Linked DNA regions of Homo sapiens: all the other regions are linked to region 1. Evidence: promoter capture Hi-C in 16 types of primary human blood cells and fetal thymus (Javierre and others, 2016). All regions are on one chromosome and are shown on one strand. The core of a region is centred on a gene start or on the middle of the fragment in contact, and the rest is flanking DNA. Distances in the headings are between cores, read along the strand shown.

Evidence for each region. Contacts are between HindIII fragments. The CHiCAGO score rates a contact against its expected background, and 5 or more counts as called.
Region 2: a fragment that was not itself captured here is called in contact with the fragment with the promoter of PLCD4 in region 1 in 2 of 17 cell types (M2 macrophages and M1 macrophages); the score reaches 5.5 in M2 macrophages.
Region 3: a fragment that was not itself captured here is called in contact with the fragment with the promoter of PLCD4 in region 1 in 1 of 17 cell types (fetal thymus); the score reaches 5.2 in fetal thymus.

The regions. Positions count from the first base shown.
Region 1 is chr2:218,605,804-218,609,839 of GRCh38, forward strand. PLCD4 (phospholipase C delta 4) reads left to right here and starts at 2,096. Exons shown (of 16, transcript NM_032726.4): 1 at 2,096-2,267. The HindIII fragment of the contact is 12,670 bases long and covers 1-2,586 here.
Region 2 is chr2:218,437,761-218,442,112 of GRCh38, forward strand. VIL1 (villin 1) reads left to right here. Exons shown (of 20, transcript NM_007127.3): 18 at 898-966; 19 at 2,962-3,102. Among named protein-coding and RNA genes, the nearest start is that of VIL1, 21 kb to the left of the region's middle. The HindIII fragment of the contact is 5,722 bases long and covers 237-4,352 here.
Region 3 is chr2:218,422,457-218,426,805 of GRCh38, forward strand. It overlaps VIL1 (villin 1), which reads left to right. Exons shown (of 20, transcript NM_007127.3): 2 at 1,312-1,397; 3 at 1,821-1,895; 4 at 3,159-3,355. The coding sequence starts at 1,323. Among named protein-coding and RNA genes, the nearest start is that of VIL1, 5.5 kb to the left of the region's middle. RefSeq lists an enhancer at 1,950-2,450 and a silencer at 3,333-3,550. The HindIII fragment of the contact is 867 bases long and covers 993-1,859 here.

The DNA.
Region 1 (4,036 bases), core at 846-3,345:
AGAGTCCTGCAGTGGGCATGCCTTGGCACTCTGGAACCATACTAACCTTGTGAAAGTCTCCAAGTCCCTGCCCCAAAAATCAGAACATATGGGCTGAAGAATACTGTTGTATTCATGGGAACATTGAAACAGAATATTTGAGATCTAGACTCTCCCAGAAAATCCACTATGAGTGATAACACCCCTCACAGATTACCCAAGAGGGAAGGAGGTTGGGCAGCATTAAATTGATGCAAATAGTGACTCAGAAAGATGGTATATAATCTGGGGGTATAGAAGAGGAGTGTGGACTGTGAAGGTGAGGCTTGGAAAAATAAGCTGGCCATGTTGGGGAAGTAGAAATGGGAGAGCAAGACAAGCATGTAAAACAGGGCCTCTATTAAGTCAAATCTGAAATCAGCACAGTTTAAACTACGATGCCCCCCAATCTTCCTGTTCCCCATGAATGGCCTCCCTCCTAATGTGTCCCCTTCCTTCATACTACTACTCTTCTATCAAAACCTGCTCTCAGTAAAGAATATAGACAACCCAACCTAGGTATAAATTATTTAAAATCTACTTTGACCTTAGGATTGAATTTTTAAAAAATTATTTATAATCGGCTGGGTGCAGTGGCTTACGCCTGTAATCCTAGCACTTTGGGAGGCCAAGGCAGGTGGATTGCCTGAGCTCAGGAGCTCAAGACCAGCCTGGGCAACACGGTGAAACCCCGTCTCTACTAAAATACAAAAAAAAGTAGCTGGGGGTGGTGGCATGCACCTGTAATCCCAGCTACTCAGGAGGCTGAGACAGGAGAATTGCTTGAACCCGGGAGGTAGAGGTTGCAGTAAGCCAAGATCACGCCATTGCACTCCAGCCTGGGCAACAGCGAGACTCTTATCTCAAAAAAAAAAAAAAAAAAAAAAAAAAATATATATATATATATATATACACACACACACATATACATATACATATATGTATATTTAAAATCATTAAGCCTTCAAAAGTTAACACAGATATATGATATTTTAAATGAGACCTAAAAAAATAAATTTAAAAACACATATAGAAAATATATCAAGAGAATGTATAGCTTAATAAATTATTAAGTGAAGACCCTTGTTAGCACTTAGAACTAGAAATAGAGTTTAGCTAGCTATGCCAGAAGCCCCCTCTGTGTCCCATCTCACCACAATTCCTCCCCCTCCCAACAGTAACCACTATCCTGACTTTTATAGTAATCACTTAGGAGGATTTTATTTTAATGGGACTAAAAAATGTAGCTATAATCACTAATGGTAAAATATTAGGCAGTTGAGGGATGCTTGTGGAAACCATGATAGGCAGCCAGACGTCAGCACACTTAAAATTACACCATTTCACACAGTTCCCCTCTGAGCCTATGCTTCATCTCTGCACACATCTTTATAAACATGCATGTATGTCCTGAAGGTGCTACCTCCATTCTGAGGGCTATGACTTATAACCCAGAGGTGCTGAACAGATGCTTGTAGGAGGAACGAATGGATGTTTAAAAAAAAATGAGCTGTTTCACACGTTCATCTATGCATTCTTTCAATATTTAATGAGTGCCTAAAATATACATAGATTCTAACCTATCTGTCCCTCTACATTCTATCATCATTCCTGTCCTCCCCTTCTCCTCGTCTTCCTCTTTTCCCATCTTATTTCTTTCTTTTCCTGTGGGACGGAGCTACAGTGAGTGCCCTGCAGGCAGGATTCAGAGATACAGGAGCAGGCCAGTGGAAACAGACACTATGGAAAGGAGCCAGATTAAATAAGGGCAAAAACAGCCGTATTACATGCAGGAACCAGAATGAAAAGCAGTGATTCACAGAGCACTGCAACTGAGGACACTCCCTTCACTTTGAGAGCTACTGCGGGATTGGGGTCAATGAGGGCTGGCATCAAGATGAAGGGCAGCCAGGCTCCTCCCTGGAGATGTGCTGCCCTTAATCCTTCTCTCCCCACCCCACCCCCACTACTCCCTCACATTGACCAGTGTCCTGGGCCTTTAAGAGTTGGATGGGCTGGACTGGAGAGAGCTCACACCTCTCCCCTTCTTACTGCTTCCCTCCGGCTATAACTTGCCAGTCACAGCAGCCAGCTGCTGTAGAAGAGGGGAGGAAACAAGCCAGTGCAAGGGGAGCAAAAGAGAAAAGGAGCCAGGCTGGGCTTCCTGATCCCACAGCATCGCAGAGCTCGGGAGGCACAGCTCACAGACACAGGAAACACAGGACTGCTATTCTGCTCTCCTGCCCACGGTAAGGATCTGGAAGCTCTGACTACCCTCTGCTCTAAGCTCTGTCTTCCCTGAGTCCCTACCTCTGCCCTCTAGATGCTTATCCACCCTGATTAAATTGTACCCTAGACTCCTTTCCTCATCCCAACAGCTCTACAGGGCTCCCACCTCCTGGTTCTCTCTAGCTTATCCTCCTTTATCCTTACAGCTTTCCTCCTGGCTGTGTCAGTCGCCCTTTATATGAGGTACCTCTTAGCTTATGCAGGGCCAGAAGTGCCAACCCTAGCCACTCCTGAGGTGAACTCCACCCCCAATAAGGGAAGAAAAAATTGGAGTAGCTAAGCTTTAGCATAGATTCATTAACAGTTTGTTGAGGGTTGCAAAATAGGGGTTGGCCAAGAACCATGGGGAATCAGAGATCCCTGGTAATAGAGAGAGTTATGAAAGTCCCTTAGAAAGTTCTCTAAAGAACTTGTTCTTTGCCTATTCCATGGGCCAGAGCAGTTTCTTAGTGCACCAGAGTGCTACGTTGGTAAGAAAACCTACTTCTAGTTCTGCCTGTGCCATTAACTAGCTACGGGACCTGGAGCCACAACTTCCAGATCTGTGATACGAGAGAGTTTAGGGTTTCCCAGACTTGCCTGTGTACCAAGTGTACTTGTTAAAAATAAATATATTATTGAGCCCCACCCTGGGTAACTCTGATCTGGTAGATTTTTGGGTAGGGCTAAGGATCTCAATTTCAAGACATTCCAGAGGCTATTGATGTAGCTGGGAATGTCTGGATTAGATGTGTTATAAAAGAACTGGCCGGGCGCGGTGGCTCACACCTGTAATCCCAGCACTTTGGGAGGCCGAGGCGGGTGGATCACGAGGTCAGGAGATTGAGACCATCCTGGCTAACATGGTGAAACCCCGTCTCTACTGAAAATACAAAAAATTAGCCGGGCGAGGTGGGTGGCGGGTGCCTGTAGTCCCAGCTACTCGGGAGGCTGAGGCAGGAGAATAGCGTGAACCCCGGGGGGCGGAGCCTGCAGTGAGCCAAGATCGCACCACTGCACTCCAGCCTGGGCGACAGCGAGACTCTGTCTCAAAAAAAAAAAAAAAAAGAACCTTCAAGCTCCAACATTCTGTGACCTGTGACCAGAGCCAATTTGTCCTCTATATGAACCAGGTTAGGCATAATCCTTCTCAGAAGCAAGGGAGTAGACAAAATGATTCTCTTCTTTCTTGCCCCTCAGAGAGACCTGAGACACCCTGAATCCCACTGTAATCTCCTTGGTGCCATTGGTAACTCTGCCAAAGTCCATCTCTAGGTGACATGAAGTCTCTTAGAAATTGAGGACCAAATTGCGCTCTGCAGCTCTGGGCTACTTCCCATCTCATTTTGTGTCCCTATTTTCGTATCTGTATTAGAGAGGTAATTACCATATCATTGAAGATCTCCATATATGTGTCTATGAGTTAATATTTAAGACCAACCTTTCTTATTATCAGATGTCATCCTCTGTGTTTTTCCCAGTGCCCTCACTCCCAAACCCTTTGTTCCTTCTCTTCTCATTGCACCTGCATCAGCTGTGGGCATCCTTCCCATTCTACCATTAGACACCAGAGGAAACAGCAAGACCTAGAATACCTAGGTTCTAACTCACATTGTCTGGGCAGTTTGTTTGGTCAATCTCCTAGGATACAGAGAAAAGTGAGGCTGAGCAGAGGGACACGCATGCTACTGAGTTCTGAACCCAAGTGTCCTCCCTTCTGGACCACAGTCTCAAAATTCTCAAAGGAGAT
Region 2 (4,352 bases), core at 1,848-4,347, 170 kb before region 1:
TGGTGCTAAATTCTAAGCAAAATGGGTCATGTGTGTGGTCCTTACCTGAGGGATGGTGTGCCAACCTCCCACGGGGTGTTTCCTAAACTGGCCCCACATAGAAGCAAGGGGCAGATACCCACAATGGAACTCCAGCAAAGGTTTTCGGTAGGAAGAAGGCCAAGGTACAGTGAAGCCTGGCCTGGTGGCTCTGGGTGCTCTAAATTGTCACAACAGATGGCTTTAGGGAAGCAGAAAGCTTAATTTCCTTAAATTTGTTGGTTTGTTTTTTTAAATTCTGCAGTTAGATGGGCTTTTAGTTTTTACTCAAGGCAGCATATCGAGATGCCAGGTTTTCTCAATCCACTTTAGTTATCACCTTTCCCTCACCTCAAGTGTGTGCTGGCTTCTCTCTCAGCCTCATTCACTCATTCATTCATTCATTCATTCAGCATAAGTGTGCTCTAGGATATGGAGATGGGACTCCTCAGAGCCATGGTCCCTTCACTCCTCTGTGGCAGGGCTCCCTTCTATTATCTGGGGGGACCCCCACCCATCCCCAGGAGCCCTGCATTTCCCAGAGCCTACATAGCCTAGGCAGGGTTCTCCATACTGCCTGTGGGTTCTTGCCCTGGCCCCTGCAGGTGGCAAAAGATCCTGCCCATCCCCATGTCAGGCTGAGCTGGGACAAATATAGCCTGCGCTCCACTTTTCTGATCTGGCAGCCCCTCTGGTCCCAATCTCACCATCTAATCTCCTTTTTCAGGGACCCTCCTCCAGCCTCAGCCTTCATATCCTCTTTCCTTTCTTACCACTAGGCCCCAGACCAGCCTTCTTTTCATTCCTGAGGGAAAATGGCTTCTCATCCATCTCCTCTGCTGAGATCCAGGTCTAATCTGTTATTTACTTTATGTGCAGAACACCAAATCCTATGAGGACCTGAAGGCGGAGCTTGGCAACTCTAGGGACTGGAGCCAGATCACTGCTGTGAGTCCGGGGCGGGGTGGCTGGGCCCTGCAGTGGCCAGCTGGTGGTCAGACCTGTGGGAGCCAAGAACGCTGCAGAGAAGACACCAGAGTCCTGTGCTTTCCCTCCTATTTCTCCCCCACTTCTCATTCTTCTTGCTGTTTTACTTCAGTGCCTCTAGTGGTTTTGTTTCCTCAATTTCCTAGTGAAATGGTTCTCAATTTTTTTTTTTTTTTTTTTTTTGAGACACAGTTTCACTCTGCCTCCCAGGCTGGAGTGCAGTGGCAGGATCTCAGCTCACTGCAACCTCCACCTCCTGGGTTCAAGTGATTCTCATGCCTCAACCTCCCAAGTAGCTGGGATTACAGGTGTGTGCCACCACGCCTGGCTAATTTTTGTATTTTTAGTAGAGACGAGGTTTCACCATGTTGGCCAGTCTGGTCTCAAACTCCTGACCTCAAGTGATCCACCAGCCTCGGCCTCCCAAAGTGCTAGGATTGCAGGCATGAGCCACCACACCTGGCCTGGTTCTCAAATTTTATCATGCATAGAAGTCGGGGAGATGGGGGCAGGGAGTGAGGGGGAAGCATATTAAAATGCAGATTCCAAGGCCCCATTCCCAAATATTCTGGTTTATAGACTTAGAATTGGCACCTAGGAATCTGCATCTTTTAAATCTTATTTTAAAAAGGTAATTTCATGTAGTTAGTCCATGGACTACACTTTGAGAAATAATGCTGTCTCTATACTCCATCACCTTTGGGATCCCTTCTCTAGGTAGAATAACTACAACTCCTTTGGTCTTTCAGTGAGTTAACAGAAGTGTATTTAGGCTGGGCACAGTGGCTCACGCCTGTAATCTCAGCACTTTGGGAGGCCGAGGTGGGTGGATTGCTTGAGCCCAGGAGTTTGAGACTAGTCTTCGTAACATGGGGAAACCCCATCTTTACAAAAAATAAAAAACAGCCAGGTGTGGTGGTGCGTGCTTGTGGTCCCAGCTACTCAGGAGGCTGAGGTGGGAGGTTGGTTTGAACCCAGGAGGCAGAGGTTGCAGTTAGCTGAAATTGTGCCACTGCACTCCAGCCTGGGCAACAGAGTCAGACCCTGTCTCAAAAAAAAAAAAAAAAAAAAACCCGAAAAAAGAAAAGAAAAAAAATGTATTTAGCCTTTAGGCCTGGGACACGGGAATATGAAATCAAAACCTTTGCTTTGAGAAGTTCACAGGCTTATAGAGAGAACAAGACAGAGCTAACTCTGAGGAATGTGTCCAGAATTCAAGAGCAAGTTCACAAGCACACTGGGGTATAATCAACAGATGGTCAAAACCTGCAGCACTCATGAAACCCTTCTTGGTGGACTGACAGTACAGACTGGCATGTATAGATAGGTCAAGGTTAAGTGAATTTATAGATGACAATTTCACAACAGATAAGAGAGACAGGGTCATAAATATCCAGGCTAGATCTCCAACTCTGGGGAAAGCCATGGGAAAGTTAATGAATCGTTAAAGAAAAGAGTCATTTTCCACCAATGGACTTCGGTCAGAACAGACCACTAAGCTCTATGTTGTTGTTGTTGTTGTTTTGAGGAGTCTCTCTCTGTTGCCCAGGCTGAAGTGCAGTGGCGCAATCTCAGCTCACTGCAACCTCCACCTCCCAGGTTCAAACGATTCTCCTACCTCAGCCTCCTGAGTAGATGGGATTACAGGCGCCTGACACCACACCTGGCTAAGTTTTGTATTTTTAGTAGAGATGCGGTTTCACCATGTTAGACAGGCTGGTCTTGAACTCCTGACCTCAAGTGATCCACCCACCTCAGCCTCCCAAAGTGCTGGGATTACAGGCGTGAGCCACTGCACCCAGCCTATGTTGTTCTTATGAGTGTGTGTGTGGCAGGGTGGGGTGGGACATGGGAGGCTTCTTGAAGGTGGTGCCCTAGAGACTTCAGAGAGAAAGGCAGCCTGGGAGGTAGCTGTGCACCAGCTAAAGTAACCAGTGGTTTCCTTTTCTTTCCTAGGAGGTCACAAGCCCCAAAGTGGACGTGTTCAATGCTAACAGCAACCTCAGTTCTGGGCCTCTGCCCATCTTCCCCCTGGAGCAGCTAGTGAACAAGCCTGTAGAGGAGCTCCCCGAGGGTGTGGACCCCAGCAGGAAGGAGGTAGGTCAGATTCTCAAAGGAAGACAAAGAAGTCCATTTGTTGGACCACCATAGTTGACTCCCAGATTTGGCCCTGCAGGTGACTAGGTGCTGGGGATGAACAAGACAGATGGGATCCTGCCTTCATGCCACCTTATATCCCAGGAGGAGAGAGATCAGAGAAGCCTGGTTACACTATTATTTAATTTCAGGGTTAAGTGCCAGAAAGGTGAAGTACAGGAGCTGTGAAGAGTATTACAAACAGGGCCGGGTGCAGTGGCTCATGCCTGTAATCCCAGCACTTTGGGAGGCCGAGGTGGGTGGATCACCTGAGGTCAGGAGTTTGAGACCAGCCTGACCAATATGGGGAAACCCCATCTCTACTAAAACTACAAAAATTAGCCAGGTGTGGTGGTGTATGCCTGTAATCCCAGCTACTCGGGAGGCTGAGCCATGAGAATTGCTTGAACCCGGGAGGTGGAGGTTGCAGTGAGTCAAGATCATGCCACTGCACTCCACCCTGGGTGACAGAGTGAGACTGTCTCAAAAAAAGAAAAAAAAAAAAGGTATTACAAAGAGGAGCCTGATTTAGAGATTTCTTTCTGAAAGACAAATAGGAATTATTGAGGCAAAGTAAGTTAGTTCTGGAGAAGGGACAGCTAACATGAAGCCCAAAGGCAAGGAATAAAAATGGGGGCAAAACTGCAAGAGGGCCAGAGTGGCTGTGGTGGTGTGCAGAGCCAGGGAGGGAGGCAGGGCTGAACTGGCAGTGCCTTCTACCCCAAGTTAAGGATCGTATCATGTATCCTGGTGGTGAAGGGGAGTATCATTATGGTTGAAGTAGCAGAGTGACAGACTTACATTGGCCTGGCACGGTGGCTCATGCCTGTAATCCCAGCACTTTGAGAGGCCGAGGAATGCGGATCACCTGAGGTCAGGTGTTCGAGACCAGCCTGGCCAACATGGTGAAACCCCATCTCTACTAAAATTACAAAAATAGCCGGGCATGGTGGCTTGTGCCTATAATCCCAGCTACTCGGGATGCTGAGGCAGGAGAATCACTTGAACCCAGGAGGTGGAGGTTGCAGTGAGCCGAGATTTCACCATTGCACTCCAGCCTGGGCGACAAGAGTGTAACTCCATCTCAAAATGATAATAATAATAATAATTATAGCTTCTCATCGAACAATAGCCTGGAAGGTGGCAAGAGCAGCCATAGGAACACCAGTTAGGAGAGACAGCACAGCTGCTCTCAGGCCGACAGGTAGGTG
Region 3 (4,349 bases), core at 176-2,675, 180 kb before region 1:
ACAGGCCATCAGACAGGACCCAAGCCCAAGGGGCTCCTACAGTTACACGGCAAGCTGCTGCTAATCAGTCGGAGCAGGCAATGATCAGAGACTGGGCAGGGCCTTACCTCCAACTCTAGAACGCCAGGGAAGCAGCAGCCACCCCTCAGGGCTCAGAAAAGGGAGTTTCTAAGTACTAAAAGGCCAAGTCACTAAGAGGTGACTCAAAGTCAAGGTGCAAGGAGAGATTAGATAGTGAGATTTCAGGCTGTCAGCGAGTGGAGGCCTGACCTGTCGGCCACATGCCCTCTCATTCATTATTCATCAGTTCAAGGAGCATTCATGGAGGGCAGCTCTCTGCCAGGCTGGGTGATAGGCTCCATGGAGATCGGGGTGGCCTCTGGCCTGATGAGGAGGAACCTCAAAACTAGGGAGGAGAATAACTGGGCACTAGTGGCTGTCTGCCCTAGTTCATATCAGAATCACTGGGGAGTTTTAAAAGCACCCATGCCTCACCTCCCAAAAGGCAGAAAATAAAGCACCCATGCCCAAGCCCCACCCTGGCCTAATTAAATCAGAATCACCAGAGCCTGGAGCATCAGCACGTTCCGAAGCTCCCCAGCTGAGGCTGATGAGCAGCAGGAGCGAATACAGCTACAGGTCCAAGCAAAAAGGGCCGGCCAGGCACAGTGGCTCATGCCTGTAATCCCAGCACTTTGGGAGGCTGTGACAGGTGGATCACCTGAGGTCAGGAGTTTGAGACCAGCCTGGCCCACATGGGGAAACCCTGTCTCTACTAAAAATACAAAATTAGCCAGGCGTGGTGGCTCACGCCTGTAATCCCAGCTATGCGGGAGGTTGAGGTAGGAGAATCACTTGAACCTGGGAGGCAGAGGTTGCAGTGAGCCAAGATCACGACACTGCACTCCAGCCTGTGCGACAGAGCGGGACTCCATCTCAAAAAGAAGAAGAAGAAAAAAATAATATGGAGAAAGGGCTGACATGAGGAGAAAAGCTTGGGGAGGGGGGTTCCTTCCAGTTTAGCGGGCAGAGAGTAGTTCACAGTGGGAGGGTTCACTCTGTTCATTCATTCATCCATCTCTCACTCCTTCCCTCCCCCTCTCTTCCTTATTGAGCAAAGTCACTGTGCTAGACACTGCGGATTTGGTACTAAACAAGCGGAAATGGTCCCTGAGTGGGGAGTAACCCTCTGTGCTCCCCCAAGCCCCTGAGCCTGCGACCTCCTGGCACTGTTGGGAGTTCTCTAGGGGCAGGCTGGAAGGGCAGCATCCGAACTCAGGGTGCCCCTGCTCCCAACGCCTTCTCCCCCAGGCTCACTCACCATGACCAAGCTGAGCGCCCAAGTCAAAGGCTCTCTCAACATCACCACCCCGGGGCTGCAGATATGGAGGATCGAGGTGAGGCCCTGTCTGGGCATGGGGGCTGCTCAGGCCTGGGGTGGAGGGAGGCAAGGCCAAGGAGGGAGGCCTGGGATTTCTCTTCGTTTCCTCTGCTCCTGCCCTGAAGCCCCTGAGAGCTCAGCCCCTCACCTCCCGCATCATCCACACCCCGGCTGGTCTCCCTTTCCCTTTCTCCATTTCTTCTCCCTCTGTCTCTCAACCTTCCTCTCCACTTCCTCTTCCTCACTCATCCCTTCCTTTCCCTCCATTGATTTTCCTTCTCCCGCCCCTCACAGTTTTCTTCTCCTCTCTTCCTTTTCTCTCCTTTCATTCCTGGGCCCGGCTCTTTGTCTCCGACGCCTCCTCCCCTTGGGCCCTCCTCCCAGGCCTAGGGGTCCTGGTGGTCCAGGGCAGCCCCTCTGACCCTCTTTCTCTCCTTAGGCCATGCAGATGGTGCCTGTTCCTTCCAGCACCTTTGGAAGCTTCTTCGATGGTGACTGCTACATCATCCTGGCTGTGAGTCAGGGGCAGGGGAGGGGGCTGAGCAGAGAGCAAAACCCACTGTGGTGTCAGGGAGGAAACAGGCTGGGGGCCGTGGGGAGAGTTGGCCTGGCTTCACCCCAAGACACAATTTACTGGGTATGCCCAAGTGCCCAACCCTGTGGGGGCTTCACAGAGGTCAGAGGCTCTTGCTGCCCTTGATCCACTGAGCTCCCAGCTGAGGTCAACTTCTGTGGATTCACAGTCTTGGGGAAACTTCTGAGTTGTTGCCGTATCACCCTAACTTGAGTCCACATTTCCACAATCCATAGTCATCTTCTTTTTTTAAAATTTTTTTCCGGATGGAGTCTCACTCTGTCACCCAGGCTGGAGTGCAGTGGAGCGACCTCGGCTCACTGCAACCTCCACTTCCCGGGTTCAAGCGATTCTCCTGCCTCAGCCTCTTGAGTAGCTTGGACTACAGGCACGTGCCACCACAGTCAGCTAATTTTTTTGTATTTTTTAGTAGAAACGGGGTTTCACCATGTTGATCAGGCTGGTTTCGAACTCTTGACCTCAGGTGATCCACTCGCCTCAGCCTCCCAAAATGCTGGGATTACAGGCATGAGCCACCATGCCCAGCCTGGCAGTCATCTTCATATCACCTTGATTTTCACCATACCCTGGTACCACCTGTACTATTAAGACATTTGTATTTTTTTCTTTATATTGACTCATTTTAAATTTTTATTTTATTTTATGTATTTATTATTATTATTTTTTGAGACAGAGTCTCGCTCTGTCGCCCAGGCTGGAGTGCAATGGCACAATCTTGGCTCACTGCAAACTCTGCCTCCTGGATTCAAGCGATTCTCGTGGCTCAGCCTCCTGAGTAGCTGGGATTACAGGCATCTGCCCCCACACCTGGCTAATTTTTGTATTTTTAGTAAAGACAGGGTTTTGCCATGTTGGCCAGGCTGGTCTTCAACTCCTGACCTCAGGTGATCCACTTGCCTCGACCTCCCAAAGTGCTGGGATTACAGGCGTGAGCCACTGTGCCTGGCACAAGCAAGTTATTTCTGAGATGAGGCAAGGGAGGCCCAGAGAGGAGAAGCCATGTCTCAGAGAGTCAATGGTAGAGCTGGGCCATGACTCAGGGCTCCTAACCGCCAGCCTAGTGCACTTGCCCTGTGCCACGCTCCCCCATAGTCCTGGACGGCACGTGTGTGGGAGGTCACACAGAGCTGGAGGGGCTGTGGGAGCCCAGGGTCTCGGGTACACTGGACACCTTTTCCCTAGATCCACAAGACAGCCAGCAGCCTGTCCTATGACATCCACTACTGGATTGGCCAGGACTCATCCCTGGATGAGCAGGGGGCAGCTGCCATCTACACCACACAGATGGATGACTTCCTGAAGGGCCGGGCTGTGCAGCACCGCGAGGTCCAGGGCAACGAGAGCGAGGCCTTCCGAGGCTACTTCAAGCAAGGCCTTGTGTAGGGAGGGTGGGCTGCAGGCCGGGGGAATGAGGATGAGTGGTAGGGATAGAGATGTTGGGGCTGAGCTGAAGAGGCAGGGACACCCAGACCTGTTCAGGCCTGGGAAGAACACTTGGAGCAGGGGGAGGTGACCTGGGGCGGGGAAGGGACCCTGAAGCTGTGGGGGGAGGCACGAGGGGGACCCTCATGAGTTTTTGGTGATTGTCCCTCACCTTTCCACTCCCTAACTCTTATTTCTGCCACTGCTCTGTCCTTGGTCTGGAGGCTGTTCTGAAATTCTATAACTCTCGTGAATCTCTGTAAATCAGCTCCTACTTGAATGTCCTGGAGAGCTCAGTGCCTAATCAAGCCCCCCAACTCTGGCCAACGGGCAAATGGCTGCTCCCCCATCTCTAATGCAGGCCTATCACACTAAAAACCAAGACCGACAGCTTTTCTTTTTCTTCCTTTTTTTTTTTGAGATGGAGTCTTGCTTTGTTGCCCAGGCTGGAGTACAGTGGCACAGTCTTGGCTCACTGCAAACTCCGCCTCCTGGGCTCAAGCGATTCTCATGCCTCAGCCTCCCCAGTAGCTGGGATTACAGGCACACACCACCAGGCCTGGCTAATTTTTGTATTTTTAGTAGAGACAGGGTTTCACCACGGGCAGGCTGATCTCAAACTCCTGACCTCAAGTGATCCATCTGCCTCAGTCTCCCAAGGTGCTGGGATTATAGGCGTGAGCCACTTCGTCTGGCCCCACCTCAGCCTCTTGAGTAACTGGGACTACAGGCCCGAGCCACCATGCCCAGCTAATTTTTTTTTTTGAGACAGAGTCTTGTTCTGCCGCCCAGGCTGGAGTGCAGTGGCGCGATCTCAACTCACTGCAAGCTCTGCCTCCCAGGCTCACGCCATTCTCCTGCCTCAGCCTCCCCAGCAGCTGGGACTACAGGTGCCCACCACCACGTCCGGCTAATTTTTTTGTATTTTTAGTAGAGACAGGGTTTCACCGT